3 separate regions of the Homo sapiens genome follow, and regions 2 and 3 are each linked to region 1. The links are contacts of gene promoters, found by promoter capture Hi-C in human tissues and cell types (Jung and others, 2019). All regions are on one chromosome and are shown on one strand. The core of a region is centred on a gene start or on the middle of the fragment in contact, and the rest is flanking DNA. Distances in the headings are between cores, read along the strand shown.

The links. The method cuts DNA at HindIII sites, captures the fragments that hold promoters and counts their contacts. A contact is called where the count stands out against the background at its distance.
Region 2: a fragment that was not itself captured here is called in contact with the fragment with the promoter of LEO1 in region 1 in 1 of the 25 tissues and cell types used here (dorsolateral prefrontal cortex).
Region 3: a contact is called between a fragment that was not itself captured here and the fragment with the promoter of LEO1 in region 1, in 1 of the 25 tissues and cell types used here (aorta).

Annotation. Positions count from the first base shown.
Region 1 is chr15:51,969,376-51,974,407 of GRCh38, reverse strand. It overlaps LEO1 (LEO1 component of Paf1/RNA polymerase II complex), which reads left to right and starts at 2,630. Exons shown (of 12, transcript NM_138792.4): 1 at 2,630-2,720. The coding sequence starts at 2,663. It also overlaps a transcript of MAPK6 not described here. RefSeq lists enhancers at 2,361-2,936, 2,584-3,113, 2,937-3,513. The HindIII fragment of the contact is 14,890 bases long and covers 1-5,032 here.
Region 2 is chr15:52,434,783-52,439,814 of GRCh38, reverse strand. All of the region lies in intron 1 of MYO5A (myosin VA), which reads left to right. Among named protein-coding and RNA genes, the nearest start is that of MYO5A, 92 kb to the left of the region's middle. The HindIII fragment of the contact is 8,386 bases long and covers 1-5,032 here.
Region 3 is chr15:51,627,706-51,632,737 of GRCh38, reverse strand. The region is part of intron 3 of LOC105370816 (a long non-coding RNA gene); the gene reads left to right. Among named protein-coding and RNA genes, the nearest start is that of DMXL2, 7.5 kb to the right of the region's middle. The HindIII fragment of the contact is 4,382 bases long and covers 538-4,919 here.

The DNA of each region.
Region 1 (5,032 bases), core at 1,381-3,880:
TGGGATTACAGGGGTGAGCCACCGTGCCCGGCCTGTCAAGATCATCTTAACATTCAAAGTTAAATTAGTTGAACACAAACCAAATAGGATTAAATTCTCCATCTCTGGGGGTAAATGAAGTTATTTAGCACTGTAAACTTTAATCAAACTGGGTGTAGTGGCTTACACCTGTAATTCCAACACTTTTGGAGGCCAAGACACGAGGATCACTTGAGGCCAGGAATTCAAGACCAGTCTAGGCAACATAGTGAGACCTTGTTTCTATATATTTTTTTAAGTTTTTAAAAAAGTATTAAAAATAAAATAAACTTCAATCAAAGTGATAACCTCAGGTAAGAAATACTGCAAAATGATTGTGATTGATTTACCTTAAGTCCAATCTCATGTATTATATCCTTTATGAAGAAAGATAATGAGTAGAAGAGCAATGGTCAGCATAAAGTGTAACCAAAACAAGGCTGGGCACGGTGGCTCAGGCCTGTAATTCCATCACTTTGGGAGGCCAAGGCGGGTGGATCACCTGAGGTCAGGAGTTTGAGACCAGCCTGACTAACATGATGAAATCCCATCTCTACTAAAAATACAAAATTAACCGGATATGGTGGCGCATGCCTGTAATCCCAGCTACTCAGAAGGCTGAGGCAGGAGAATCACTCGAACCCGGGAGGTGGAGGTTGCAGTGAGCTGAGATCACGCCATTGTACTCCAGCCTGGGCAACAAGAGCGAAACTCTGTTTAAAAAAAAAAAGTGTAGCCAAAACATAAACAAAAAAATCTGTCCAAGAGTCAGAAGTGATTTGTTTTATACTATTCATATGGGAAAAACACGTTTATTCTGATAGCCAGGAATATGGACATGGTGACTCACCAGACCAAACTGTAATTCAATTTATTAAGATTTAGCCAGGCACTGTGGCCCATACTTGTAATCCCAACGTGTTAGGAGGCCGAGGCAGGAGGACCTCTTGAGGCCAGGAGTTTGAGGCTGCAGTGAGCTATGATGGCGCCACTGCGCTCCAGCCTAGGCAACAGAGACACTGTATCAAAAGAAAATAAATTTAATCAAAGTACTTTTCAGGGACAGTACTCTAAATGAAAATGAAACTGAATCACTGTCAAATGGAATACTTGTTTTTCCAGTATTCCAGATAGTTTTCAGGTTATCTATGTATCTTCTCTTGCAACATCCGCTTCATACACAAAAGCTCTAGGATTGATGATTACATACCCAGTCCCACCCATTTGGACCCTGTTAAGCACTGAAGTTTACTACAAAAATATATATCATATAATCTCCAAACTAAATATTCATTGTTGCTTGTCCAAGACCAAAACTCTCATAATGGCCTAATTAGGTAATGTAACACAGGATGTACTCTTTTCTCACTTTTTCTTCTAAGAAACAGAGCCTTACTCTGTCACTCAGGCTAGAGTGAAGTGGCGTGATCATAGCTCACTGCAGCCTCCAACTCCTGGGCTCAAGTGATCCTCCATTCTCAGTTTCCTGAGTAGCTAGGGCTACAAATGCATGCCATCATGCCTGGCTAATGTTTTTATTTTTAATTATTTTATTTTATTATTATTATTTTTTTGAGATGGAGTCTCGTGCCCAGGCTGGAGTGCAGTGGCGCGATCTCGGCTCACTGCAAGCTCCGCCTCCTGGGTTCACGCCATTCTCCTGCCTCATCCTCCCTAGTAGCTGGGACGACAGGCGCCCACAACCACGCCCGGCTAATTTTTTTTATTTTAGTAGAGACGGGGTTTCACCGTGTTAGCCAGGATGGTCTCGATCTCCTGACCTCGTGATCCACCCGCCTCGGCCTCCCAAAGTGCTGGGATTACAGGCGTGAGCGACCGCGCCCGGCCAAAAAAATGGTCATTTAAAGCTTAAAAAAGCTGTTTGTTAACATGTATATTATTTTTAAATGAATTAGTAACTTAAAAATTTATTACCGTATTAGTAAGAATACAGTAAATATCAATACCCGTACCTGTAATCCCAGCACTTTGGGAGGCCGAGGCGGGCGGATTGCCTGAGCTCCTGAGTTTGCGACCAGCCTGGGCAACACGGTGAAACCCCGTGTCTACTAAAATACAAAAAATTAGCCGGGTGTGGTGGCGGGCGCCTGTCGTCCCAGCTACTCGGGAGGCTGAGGAATTAGAATTGCTTGAACCCGGACAGTGGAGGTTGCTGTGAGCCGAGATCGCGCCACTGCACTCCAGCCTGGGCGACTGAGCGAGACTCCGTCTCAACAATTTTTAAGAGGGTAAAGGGGTTTGGGATGAAATAACTGGAGAACAGCTGCTCAGTAAGAAACAAAGGGCTTCAATCCTGACTCGCGATAGGTTTAATCCAGCCAGAGGCCCTTCCCCAGAGAGCGCCAGTCACCGCCCACCCCATCCACACCCGCAACCGAACGCAGGACCCCCCCGCCCCCTGGTAAGAATCCTGGCAAATAACAGATATTGACGAAATGGCCGGGCTTATATACCATGCATACCCAGGCGAGAACAGGTTCACTGGGCGAGCGAAAACTAGGTCACGTAAGGAAAGGAGTGTCTTCGGCGAATCTTTGCGACACTGTCGTGTTTCAGTGGTTCCGTGCCGTAAAGAGAGGCCGGGAGCTGCCCCTAACCGAGGCAGCAGCGGACGTGAGCGATAATGGCGGATATGGAGGATCTCTTCGGGAGCGACGCCGACAGCGAAGCTGAGCGTAAAGGTGGGTTCGCTGGTCTTCGGAGGATGGGTGCGTGGCAGGCCTTCCGCTGTGGGAGCCGGACAACCGTGGAGGCTCCAGCGCCGCGGGCAAGAGGTGGCGTTTCCTCCACTCCTGCCTCAGCGCCCCCTGCACTCCCGGAGGTGCCATCCTCCTCCGGCGGGCAGGATGGAGAGTCAGACAGTCTGCGCCTCGAGGCTCTGGGTGTCGGTGGAGCAGACGGTTCCTGGGAGCTTGTGGAGCGAAAGGGGCGCGGGGCATGGGTGGAAGTGCAGGCGAGCCTGCGCAGCGCGGGTAGGAACGTTGGAGTCCTGTTCCGCCTTGCCTTGCACAGGCCAGCGTAGAGTAAGGGCTGTTTTTGAATGAATGGAAATGAATGCAGGAATATGGGATGGGGTGGGCGAATTTACAGAGGGCCTCAGAATGCCGTCTTGAATGAAACCAGAGCATGGTGTGATAGGGAGCTTGAGATGTCTGGATGACGAGTCTGGGACGGATAATGGGATGGGGTTACAGATAGATGTTTCACATAGGAGAGAATGTGTTCTCTAAGAGCTTGTGCAGAAACTCCAGAATTTCCGGAGTCTGTGATGTTAGATTGGGGAGTGCATGGGGTCTGTGTACAGAGAGGAGGAATGAAGGATTTGTTGATGAAATGAATGAATTAGTGTATGTGCATGCTGCTTGGAAGTTATTTCTGGCACAGGATTGTGGGTGTTTTTTTAAAGTTTACTTTTTTAGAGACAGGGTCTCACTGTGTTGCTCAGGTTGGCCTTGAACTTCTGGGCTCAAGCCATCCTTCTGCCTCAGCCTCCAAGTAGTTGAGACTACGGGCACTTGAAATATGAATAGGAGCTATTTGAAGTGAGAACCCAAGACCAAGTTCAGAATTCTTGCAACCCTCTAGGCTCCAAGTAAAGTGAGTCTCTTGTAGACAACATATATCTAGTTGTTATTTTCATCACCCCCAAATAAAACACTGTTCATAAAGCACTTACTCCTCATATGCTCCTTCCTCCAACCCCTGTCTGCTATTGTTTCTGTACTTATCTGTTCTGGGAATTTCATATAAATTGAATCATGCATTGTGGTCTTTTGTGTCTGGTTTCTTTTACTTAGCATAATGTCTTCAAGGCATTGTAGCACATATCAGTACTTTATTCATTTTTAATGATTTAATAATATTCCATTGAATGTGCACACCCTAAATTTGTTAATCCATTTATCTGTTGATGGACATTGGGTTGTTTGAATAGTGCTACTGTAAACATTCCTGGTTCCGGCAGGCGGATTTGCCTGAGCTCAGGAGTTGAAGACCAGCCTGGGCAACATGGTGAAACCCTGTCTCTACTAAAAATACAAACTGTTAGCCAGGTGTGGTCGTGCGTGCCTGTAGTCCCAGGTACTCAGAAGGCTGAGGCATGAGAATCACTTGAACCCAGGAGACAGAGGTTGGCAGTGAGCTGAGATTGCATCACTTCACTTCAACCTGGGTGATAAAGTGAGACTCTGTCTCCAAAAAAATAAATAAATTCATGTACATGTTTGGGTGCCTGTTTTTAATTTTGGGAGGAGGGTATTATGTAGGAGTGCAGAGTCATATGGTAATTCTTTAATATTTTGAGGAGCAGCCAAACTGTTTTCCATAGTGGTTGAGCCATTTTACATTACCACCAGCAATGCACCAGGGTTCCCTTTCCCCACATCTTTGCCAACAGTTATTTTAAGTTTTTATTTGTTTCTAAAGTAGCCATCCTTGATGTTATCAAGTGGTGTCTCATTGTGGTTTCAGTTTACACTTTCCCAAAGGCTAATGATGCTGAACATCTTTTTTTTTTTTTTTTTTTTTTTTAACGGAGTCTCAGTCTGTCTCCCAGGCTGCAGTGCAGTGGTACAATCTTGGCTCACTGCAACCTCCGCCTCCGGGTTCAAGCAATTCTCCTGCCTTAACCTCCCGAGTAGCTGTGATTACAGGCACCTGCCACCATACCCTACTAATTTTTGTATTTTAAGTAGAGATGAGGTTTTGTCATGTTGGCCAGGCTGGTTCCAAACTCCTGACCTCAGGTGATCCACCTGCCTCGGCCTCTCAAAGTGCTAGGTTCAAGCGATTCTCCTGCCTTTGCCTCCTGGGTTCAAGTGATTCTCCTCCCTTATCCTCCCGAATAGCTGGGATTACAGGCGCCTGCCACCACACCCTGCTAATTTTTGTATTTTTAGTAGACATGAGGTTTTGCCATTTTGGCCAGGCTGGTCTCAAACTCCTGACCTCAGGTGATCTGCCTGCCTCGGCCTCTCACAGTGCTGGGATTACA
Region 2 (5,032 bases), core at 978-3,477, 470 kb before region 1:
TTAATCCCAATACCTCAAATCTCAGGCTCTTCTTTTTCCTTCTCCTACCAGTTTCTACATCATTATTTACTTTTTCTTTACCTACTACTTCATGAGTCTCTCTTCTTTAAGCCTCTGATTCATGCCCCATCTCAACCCTGCTTGGTGGCCTCAAACTCTGGTATGGCTTCATGGAAAATCCTGAGCTAAGCCTGTGGAATGTTGCCAATTTTTCTCACCTCTTTTCCTTGCCTTACCTTATCTCAGTCTTAAATAAAATCAACATATATGTGCTGCCCACAAACTATGGGCCAGGAACTTGGCTGACCTCAAAGGGGATTCAAAGATGGCTTTGAAAGAGTATATAGTCTGGTATGGAAGGTAGGTAGATTCATAAATAACTAAAATAAGGTTTCAGGTAGCATAAGTGAGATGTTTGAGAGACTCTCACAAGATAATGAGGGACTAGATCTAGAGTAGTGTGAGTGGAGAAGAGGAAACGGGGATCACTGAAAGAGAGCCTAACCCTTTGTTAGCTAATCATGACAGAATCCAGCTACATGACAGTGTTACCGGGTCGTCCTTGCTCCCAGAGCTCCCAAGATGGTGGCAGGCCACTTCCAAAATGGCGGCGGGCCACTTCCAAGATGGTGGCAAGCCTCATGTTCTCTGACCTGGGGTTCTTGGCCTCACGGATTCCAAGGAATGGAATCTTGGGCCATGCGGTGAGTGTTATAGCTCTATTAGAAGCCGTGGGTCACGGAAGAGAACTGTGGAACCCAGTGACTGACTAGTGTTCAGCTCGATTAGGACGAACCCGGGCACTTAGCCATGCAGGAACGATGGCAAGCCTGTAGCCCTATCGGGAGCAGCAGTGGGCGCCTAGCTGGATCAGGAGTACAGCAGACACCCTGCTGGATCCACCCTGTGGAAGTCAGCCACAGGTCTGTAACAGTGGCAAACAGCAGTGGTGGACGGCGAGCGAAAGCTCAGCTCGAGCCGTAACAAACACAGACCAAAAGAAAGTGCAGTTGCAAGATTTAATAGAGTGAAGACAGAGCTCCCATACAAAGGGAGGGGACCCAAAGAGGGTAGCCGTTGCCGGCTGGAATGCCTGGGTTTATATCCCGATCATTGTCCCTCCCGCTGTGCTCTTAGGCGATAGATGATTAGCTATTTCTTTACCTCCTGTTTTTGCCTAATTAGCATTTTAGTGAGCTCTCTGATGGCTCGGGTGTGAGCTAAGTTGCAAGCCCCATCTTTAAAGGTGGACGTGGTCACCTTCCCAGCTAGGCTTAGGGATTCTTAGTCTGCCTAGGAAATCCAGCTAGTCCTGTCTCTCAACAGGGGCTTTCCCTTGCCTTGCTGGGGCTGTGTCCAGTTTGATTCACTTTGGCCAGGGTTATTGTTTTCTAACTGCTTCTTTTTCACCAGGAGGGCCTTCTGCAGACTAAGTAGGCAGTGTCTATCCTTGTTTCTGATTCCTGCCCGACTCACACTGTGTCCCATTTCTAGGTTCCTCATGCGTTCCAGTGGCCTTGTCTTCTTGCCTGCCTTCCCCCAGTCTTCTCACCGGATGTGACTGGACAAGTTTAGTTCTATTCCTGCCATGTGTATTTGCTTTGCGGCCTGGGGGAGGCAGGGTTGGAAGTGATGAAAGCAGTAGGAAGTGGCATATCAGGTTGAGATTTCCCTGTTTCAGCATCTAAGGTATATATCCTCAAACTGACCCCCTTCTGGCATAGTTGTTTCTGCAGAGTCACTGATCTCATTGGTTAAGATGGAAAAGAACCACAGAAAGGCAATGGTAATAATAGAATGGTTTCTGACCTATTTCTCCTTGGATGCTTTCCTCAGAGGTAAAGCTAAGATAAAGAGGAAATTGGTTATCAGGGTGGTGTTCAGTGTTTAAATATCTTGCTTTTGGTGAATATGAGGGCCTTATCCTCCCACTGCTTATCTGTAAGTGTTGTTAACATCTAGCCCTTGGAAATCTGGTCTTTGGCAAAGTATCTACTTTTTGCAAAATACTTGTGGAAATCTGAGCTGGAGCTCCCTACTAACACAGAACATGAAGGCACTTTCTAGATTTAAAGTCTCCTCATGTTTAGGCACTGGTCAGTCATGCTTCTACAAACTCACTTGGACACATTTTCCTTTTTTGTGTTTTCATCAGTCAAGGTGATAGGTCATTTCATGATTCTGAATATCTCTCTCTCTTTTTTTTTTTTTTTTTTTTTTGAGATGGAGTCTTGCTCTGTTGCCCAGGCTGGAGTGCAGTGACTTGATCTTAGCTCACTGCAACCTCCACCTCCTGGGCTCAAGTAATCCTCCCACCTCAGCCTCCTGAGTAGCTGGGGTTACAGGCACGAACCACCATGCCTGGCTAATTTTTGTATTTTTAGTAGAGGCGGGGTTTCACCATGTTGGTCAGGCTGGTCTCTAACTCCTGAGCTCAAGTGATCCGCCTGCCTAAGCCTCCCAAAGAGCTGGGATTACAGGCATGAGCCACTGTGCCCAGCCCGACTCTTAATCTCTTTATATTTATATATCTTTTCTGGAACCAGTAGTGCCTTCCAGAGAAAGCTACAAAAGTGCTGTCTTTGTAAAGTAAGCTTCAGAGTGGGAGCAGTTAGTACATAGAAATATTTATTACATGAGTAAGGCTTTAGTGATATGTACAGATATTACTCAGTTTATGGACTGTGTCCCTGGGAAAAAAGTTGTAAAACAAATTTCAGTAACATGTTTGATATATGACATTAGAAATCACTTCCTATGGGAAAAACAGTAACAACCCCACCTTGTACTTATATATTGGTTTATACTTTTCATGAAGTTTCTATGTGCGTAAGCCTTTGCAATAAACTAGAAGACTATTGTTGTCATCCTCATTTTATTGTTGCCTGAAATAAAGGCCAAGGCCCATCTGGTGGCCCTGGGAGTAGAACCCATAGTCTAATTCCATACTCTTTCCTCTGCAAACTGTTTAGATTAAAAGTTTGTATGTGTTGGTAATAATAAGAGAAAATTAAAGCAATTGAGCGAGCTTTTAATCATGCTACTTATATTCAATTTAAAGAGATGCCTTTTATTCTGATCTTCTTTCGATAAGTTCTTACTAAGCACCAGCTCTGTGTCAGGTACTGTTCTAAGTACTGCCTGCTGTGTTGAACAACACAGACACAGAACTTATGTTCTAATGAAGGAAGAGAGATAGTAAATAAGTAAACAAACAAGAACATAACAGCAGGTGATTTCAGATAGTGAATAAGAGTGCTGAAGAATGTAAAATAGAGAATGGTAATAGTAGTTTGGATTGATTTCCGCTAGAAAGGTCTGGGAAGGCCTCTCTGAAGAGGTTTACATTTGAGCTATCATATAAGTGAGAAGGAGGCAGACATAAGCAGATCTGGGAGAAGTACATTATAGAGGGCTTAACAAGAGCCAGGGTCTAGAGACAGGAGCAAACAAAACTGTGTTCCTGAAGAACTAAAATAAGATCTGCATAGTGCCGGCTTAGAGGTTGGCAGGGGAAGGAAAGGACAGGTCATGAAGGCCCTTGTAGAACATGGTAAGGGATTTGTATGTTAACTATGATGGCCAGGCCAGGTGTGGTGGCTCACGCCGTAATCCCAGCACTTTGGGAGGCCAAGGTGGGAGGATCACTCTCTGAGGCTAGGAGTTTGAGACCAGCCTGGCCAACATGGCGAAACCCTGTCTCTACTAAAAATACAACAACAACAAAAAAGTAGCCAGGTGTGGTGGCAGGCACCTGTAATCCCAGCTACTTGGGAGGCTGAGGCAGGAGAATCGCTTGAACCCCAGAAGCGGAGGCTGCAATGAGCCGAGATCATGCCATTGCACTCCAACCTGGGCAACAAGAGGAAAACTCTGTGTCAGAAAAACAGAAAACAAAAAAACTGTGATGGCTATTTGTCCTACTGTTTTCTTGTTAAAATGTCCTTTATTTTGTAAAACGATGGTGATATTAGACAGTAAATTGGTATTTATGTTGCCTCTGCTGAGTGTGAGGGCTTTAGCCTCTACTTGTCTGTAAGTGCTGCCAATAATTAATGGTTTTATAATCTTACTTGTCAAGACTAAAAGTTAGTTAATAACCTTATATCAGTCCCCAAACTTTAAGTAAAAAATTTTACCAGCCATGAAATCTAGTAGTTTGGAAACTATGGCAATATACCACAGCAGCTTCCCAATAGGAAGGCTTGAAAATATTTGTCAGTAAAGAGGTTAACATAGGCTGGGCATGGTGGCTCATGCCTGTAATCCCAGCACCTTGAGAGGCCAAGGCGGGTGGATCATGAGGTCAGGAGATCGAGACCATCCTGGCTAACACGGTGAAACCCTGTCTCTACTAAAAATAGAAAAAAATTAGCTGGGTGTGGTGGCATGTGCCTATAGTCCCAGCTGCTCGGGAGGCCGAGGCAGGAGAATCACTTGAACCCAGGAGGCGGAGGTTGCAGTGAGCCGAGATCGTGCCACTGCACTCCAGCCTGGGTGACAGAGTGACAGAGTGAGACTCCGTCTCAAAAAAAAAAAAAAAAAAAAAGAGGTTAACGTAATATCCAGGACAGTGGCATGGCATGCTGAAATGTTTTTCTTAATTTAAATTATCTTGAATCTCAGATCTACCTGTACTTTCGTTCACCCACTTTCTTTTCGCTTTCTCCTATCTGTAAGTTCATCACTGGGTCATATAAATTTCTCTTGTACTTGGGAATGACCTTGTTACAAGCTTCCAGAACTTTGTGCCCAGTACTTAGAATAGTCATTACATTATCACAGTTCTTTGGGAAGTTGCCCCATATTTAACATACTCAAATCCAAATGCTCCTTCTCAAAGCTCCAAGTAAATTAGTACCCTGATTATTGTTAAAAATGAAATCTAGAGGTGAATTTACATGAAATGAGGATACAGATACAGGCCAGAGACCGGGTTCAGTCTGGCCCATGCCAGCCATGATTGATTGTGTCATGTCTTTCCCTTGCTGGCTGAATCTAGGATTCCTGTTTTCATATGTGATTTGTTCAT
Region 3 (5,032 bases), core at 1,479-3,978, 340 kb after region 1:
ATCCAGGACTTTGTGGAGATCAGATGGGACAAACATAGTCAGTTAGGATCCCCCTTTTAGCAGAGATGATAGATGGAGGAAATTTCAAAGGGGGCATGATTTGGATTGGCATCTCAAAACGTGTCCACTATATTTGGCATAATTATTACACTGTACTCTTAATACCATTGTTACATTGTATGGGATTGTATCATTTTTGTATTTTTCCTACTTCATTAGACTTTCAGTTCTTAGAGGGTTCTTCACCAAAGGTACATCTGACAATTTATTTTGCCTATTCCCATGAATTTCTTGACAATTCATAGCTTAGATTTCTGTCTACAGAGTCTTGCATTGTACGACTTCCGTGTGCTTCTGTTTCCTCATCTATAAAAAGGGGTTCATAAAACTGCCTATGTTATTAGGTAGTCATAAGCATTAAAGATAATGTGCTCCATAAATATTACCTATCATATTATCTTTTTTTCTTTATAGCCTCTTTCCTCACGTGCCAAAATGTTTGTGTGTGCTTGAACTGAATTTTCTGTAGGGAAGTCATGAATGAGTTTTTGCATTAGGAATATGTGTATCGATTCCCTAAAAATAATCCTAATCGTGCTCTCTTACAATTCCATTTTGTACTTGCCACAGATTTATCTTAAGGTATAGCTCTTTCATATCGTATATAAATTATTTGTTTATGTGCTTTAATATGTACTAAATAAGTCCCTGAAGTCAGGGAAAGAAGTTTTTCTGCCTTTGCCTCATCTTTGTATCCCTAGAGTATTTGTTGCTGCCTGGAATGAAGACGCTCTCAGTATTTAATTTAACCAATCTCTGAAGATATACTTTTGAGCTCATACTCTAGCAAACAGACTCTGTAGACAGAGATCTAAGCTATGAATTGTCAAGAAAAATTATTCAAGACTTGGAAATAGGCAAAATAAATTGTCAAGTATACCTTCAGTGAAGAGCTGGGCATTGCCTAGGAGAATTTTAAGGATTGTCTGATATTATTTGATTGATTTGCTATTAACTAGGCTATTTAAAAACATTGAGAATAAAAGCTAAATTTTTGGAAAACTGATAGCAATATAACTAACTCATTTTCATAAGCAATGCAAATGAACTGTCAGGTAGAAGATATAAATCTCCATAAGTCAAATTCTTATTTGAACTATTTTAACATCTTACTGGTTTCTTAATCAAGGAATGAGTTGAACAAAATCTTTGGCATAATTTCATTTTATATTTGCATGGGAGTTGTGCTGCTAACTCACTGAAAAAGTATATTGTGATATAAGTAATAAGATAAATCTCATAGTGAAGACACAAAGATTTAGGGGAACAGAGGGTGGGATAAATTTATTTAACATCATTGGGAGGAAAGGTTTTACCTAGGTGATTTTAAAGCTGGGCTTTGAAGACAATGTTGAATTGGGGTGGAGCCGTGTTTGAAGAGGGGAAGGGAGAAAGACCTCTAGGCAAAAGAAACTGTTAATACGGTGGGGTTCATGGACTCTGTTTACCAGAAAGACTACTGGCTCCTTACCAACTGCTTTTCAAAGGTGGTGAGATTTTGAGGTTGTAGGCCTACTGACACTGTTGTAGAGCTATGGAAGTCATCATCCACTCCAAGATCAAAGGCCCAGCAGGCCCATAGACTTGTTTAGGAACCCTCTGCAATGCCTGTCTTTTAAACAAATTTAAACATGTCTTTTGCATTTGCATTTGAAATTTTACATATAAGTGTGGACAAATTATTGTGTTTTAAAAATAATGAAATATACTCCATAAAACTTTATATCTTCATTTAAAATTTAATTTTGCAACTGATATGGAATACATAATGTTAATCTGAGCATGATTTCCTAGTTTCTTAAACTTCTTCATAGACTTAAAGAAAGGCCATCTTTTGTTTAAAAATTTAAAATCATTGTTTTCCCAATATAAAAGCAACTCATATATATTCAGTGCAGAAAAATTGGAAACAAATGTGGAAAAAAATTGAAATTAAACTTGTTTATAATTCTATCAACTAGACATGAGTGCTGTTAACATACTTTCTAGAACTTTTTCTTTGTACACACATGGAGTTTCTGTTAATTAACAAAAAATGACTGTTTCTTTTTATTGAGGTAAAATTCATATAACATAAAATTAACCATTTGGAAGTGAACAATTCAGGGGCACTTAATACATTCACAGTGTTGTGCAACCATTAACTCTATCTAGTTCCAAGACATTTTTATCACTACACAAGGAGACCCTGTACCCCTATTCATTTCTTCCCCTGGGCCCTGGCAATGCCAATGTGCTTTCTAAGATCTCTATGGATTTACCTATTCTGGAAATTTTCATATAAATGTGTAGCCAGTGGGGCCTTTGTGTCTGGCTTCCTTTATTGAGCATAATGTTTTCAAGGTCATCCACATTATGGCATATGTCAGTACTTCATTCCTCATGGCTGAATAATATTCTATTGTATGTAGATAGCACAATTTATCCATTCATATGTTGGTGGTCAGCTTTCTCTTTTTACAATCTTCTTTTTGAAAAATGCAATAAAAACCTTAATCTATCCTGAACATTTTTCATAATCTTTCTTCATATGTAAAAGGGTTAATGGTCACAGGAATATGCCTATACAAATATGCTTGCAGTATATAGAACTAGATTAAAAGGAGAGTCAATTGATAACGTCAGATTTTTTTGGTTAACACCTGATGCATGTGGGCACACCCACATGCAGGGAAATACAAACCACCACCACCACCACACAACAACAAAAAACAAACACTGGACCCAGACCCTCTGGCACATGCTTGTTTCTGCTGCCCCCAGATACAATTTTTTTCCTGCAGGCAGGGATGCCATCTCTTCACCATGAGGAAGTGCTGATTCCTCTCCCCTCTCACTTCCCTTTAGGAGTGTGACCATCCTGGCCCACCCCTAAGAGTACTGTGCAATACTTGGTGATTTCAACACCACAATGCCTGATTGTTGACTGATTTTTCTCTCAGCAACCAGAACAACATAAGTTCATTTTTCTCTCTAAGTCTAGCACCGAATGAACTTGTTTCTCTCTCTCTTTAAAATTGTATTTTGCTTAAGTACCATGCCAGCAAAATTAATTCATTTCTTCAGATGCACAAAATGGTCTGTTGACTACCCAGCAGGCCATGCCTGATTTAGTAACTAACTTCAACTTTTGTTCAGTCCTTATCCTTTATCTCAACACTACTGGCTTTCTATCCCACAACTACCATCTGCCCTCCCGACAGGATGTAGTATTTTGTTTTCTGAGGCCTTGGAAAGGTATGTAAGTTCTAAAATATTTGTGACATTTTCACAAAATTTACATAATGTACCCTGATACAGTTAATAACTACTTGGCTTAGTTAACATTTCTTGAGTTCCTACTGTGTTCCAGGTACTTTGCCAGGCTTTAGCAATTAAACACACACACACACACACACACACACACACGCACGCACGCACACACACACAGCTAAGAGTATGAGTTAGAATTAGCAACATCTCTAACAGAGACACAAAACACAGTGGCTTAAATAATATAGAAGTTTATTTCTCTCTAATGTAAAAATCCAGATGGAGAAGACCAAGGCTGGTGAGAAGGCTCCACAGTTGCCTGGAATTCAGTGACAAGTGACAAGCTTCCAGTTGTTGTTTTTTTTTCTCTTTCTTTTCTTTTCTTCTTTCTTTTCTTTTCTTTTTTTTTTTTTTTTTTTTTTTTTTTTACAGCATCTCATTCTATTGCCCAGGCTGGATGTAGTGCAGTGGTGCAATATGGGCTCACTGCAACCTCCACCTCTGGGGTTCCAACAAAACTCCCACCTTGGTCTCCAGAGTAGCTGGGACTACAGGCATGCACCACCATGCCCAGCTAATTTTTGTATTTTTGTAGAGACAGGGTTTCGCCTTGTTGCCCAGGCTGGTCTGGAACTCCTGAGCTCAAATGATCCACCCACCTCAGCTTCCCAAAGTGCTGGGATTACAGGTGTGATCAACCGAACCCGGCAGCTTCCAGTTTTCTACTCCACCATCCCTAGGGTTGAACCCTCATCCTCATGCTCCAAAATGGAGCTTCAGTGATCTCATCTATGTTCTAGGGAAACAGGATGGAGGAAGGAAGGAAGAAGGCATAAAAGGTATGATAGCTACCTTTTAAGGAAAATTTCCAGAAACTACTGTACTTCTGCTTTGATCAACATCTAATTGATCACAACTTAGCCATATAACCAAGTGGCAACAAGGTAGGCTGGGAAATGTATTCTTTATTCCAGGCATCTATTTCCCAGCTAAAAACTGAGGGTCCTGATGAGGAGAAAACAGATAATAGGTAAGGCAATCAGAAATTGTCAACATCAAGACACAGTCCCTGCCCTCTAGGCAGAAAAGGTAAGAGAATACTGTGAGTATATAACAAAGGAATCTAATTCACACTGTGCAAAGTTTTCCAGAAATGGGGGTGCCTGAACTGAATTTTTAGGGAAGAGTAGGAGTGAAAGAGTGAAATAGGCAAAGAGTATGGATTTTTTTTTTTTTTTGACAGAGTTTTCACTCTTGTTGCCCAGGCTGGAGTGCAGTGGTGCGATCTCAGCTCACTGCAACCTCCACCTCCCAAGTTCAAGCAAAGTCTCCTAAGTAGCTGGGACTACAGGCGCATGCCACCACACCTGACTATTTTTTTTTTTTTGTATTTTTAGTAGAGACGGGGTTTCATCATGTTGGCCAGGGTGGTCTCGAACTCCTGACCCCAGGTGATCTGCCCACCTTGGCCTCCCAAAGTGCTGGGATTACAGGCATGAGCCACCACGCCCGACCAAATGGTGGTAATGATAATAGTGAGGGAGTTTCTGGAAAGGGAAATTAGCCAGTGGCCAGAGGCTTGAAAGGAATTACTGTATACTAGTGTGGTTGTACCCTACATTTAGAGGTCAGGAATGTTGAAAGATGAAGTTGAAAAGATAAGCAAGGGTGAATAGTTTTTGTGTCTGGTCTACTCTGTATAATCATTCATACGATAAAA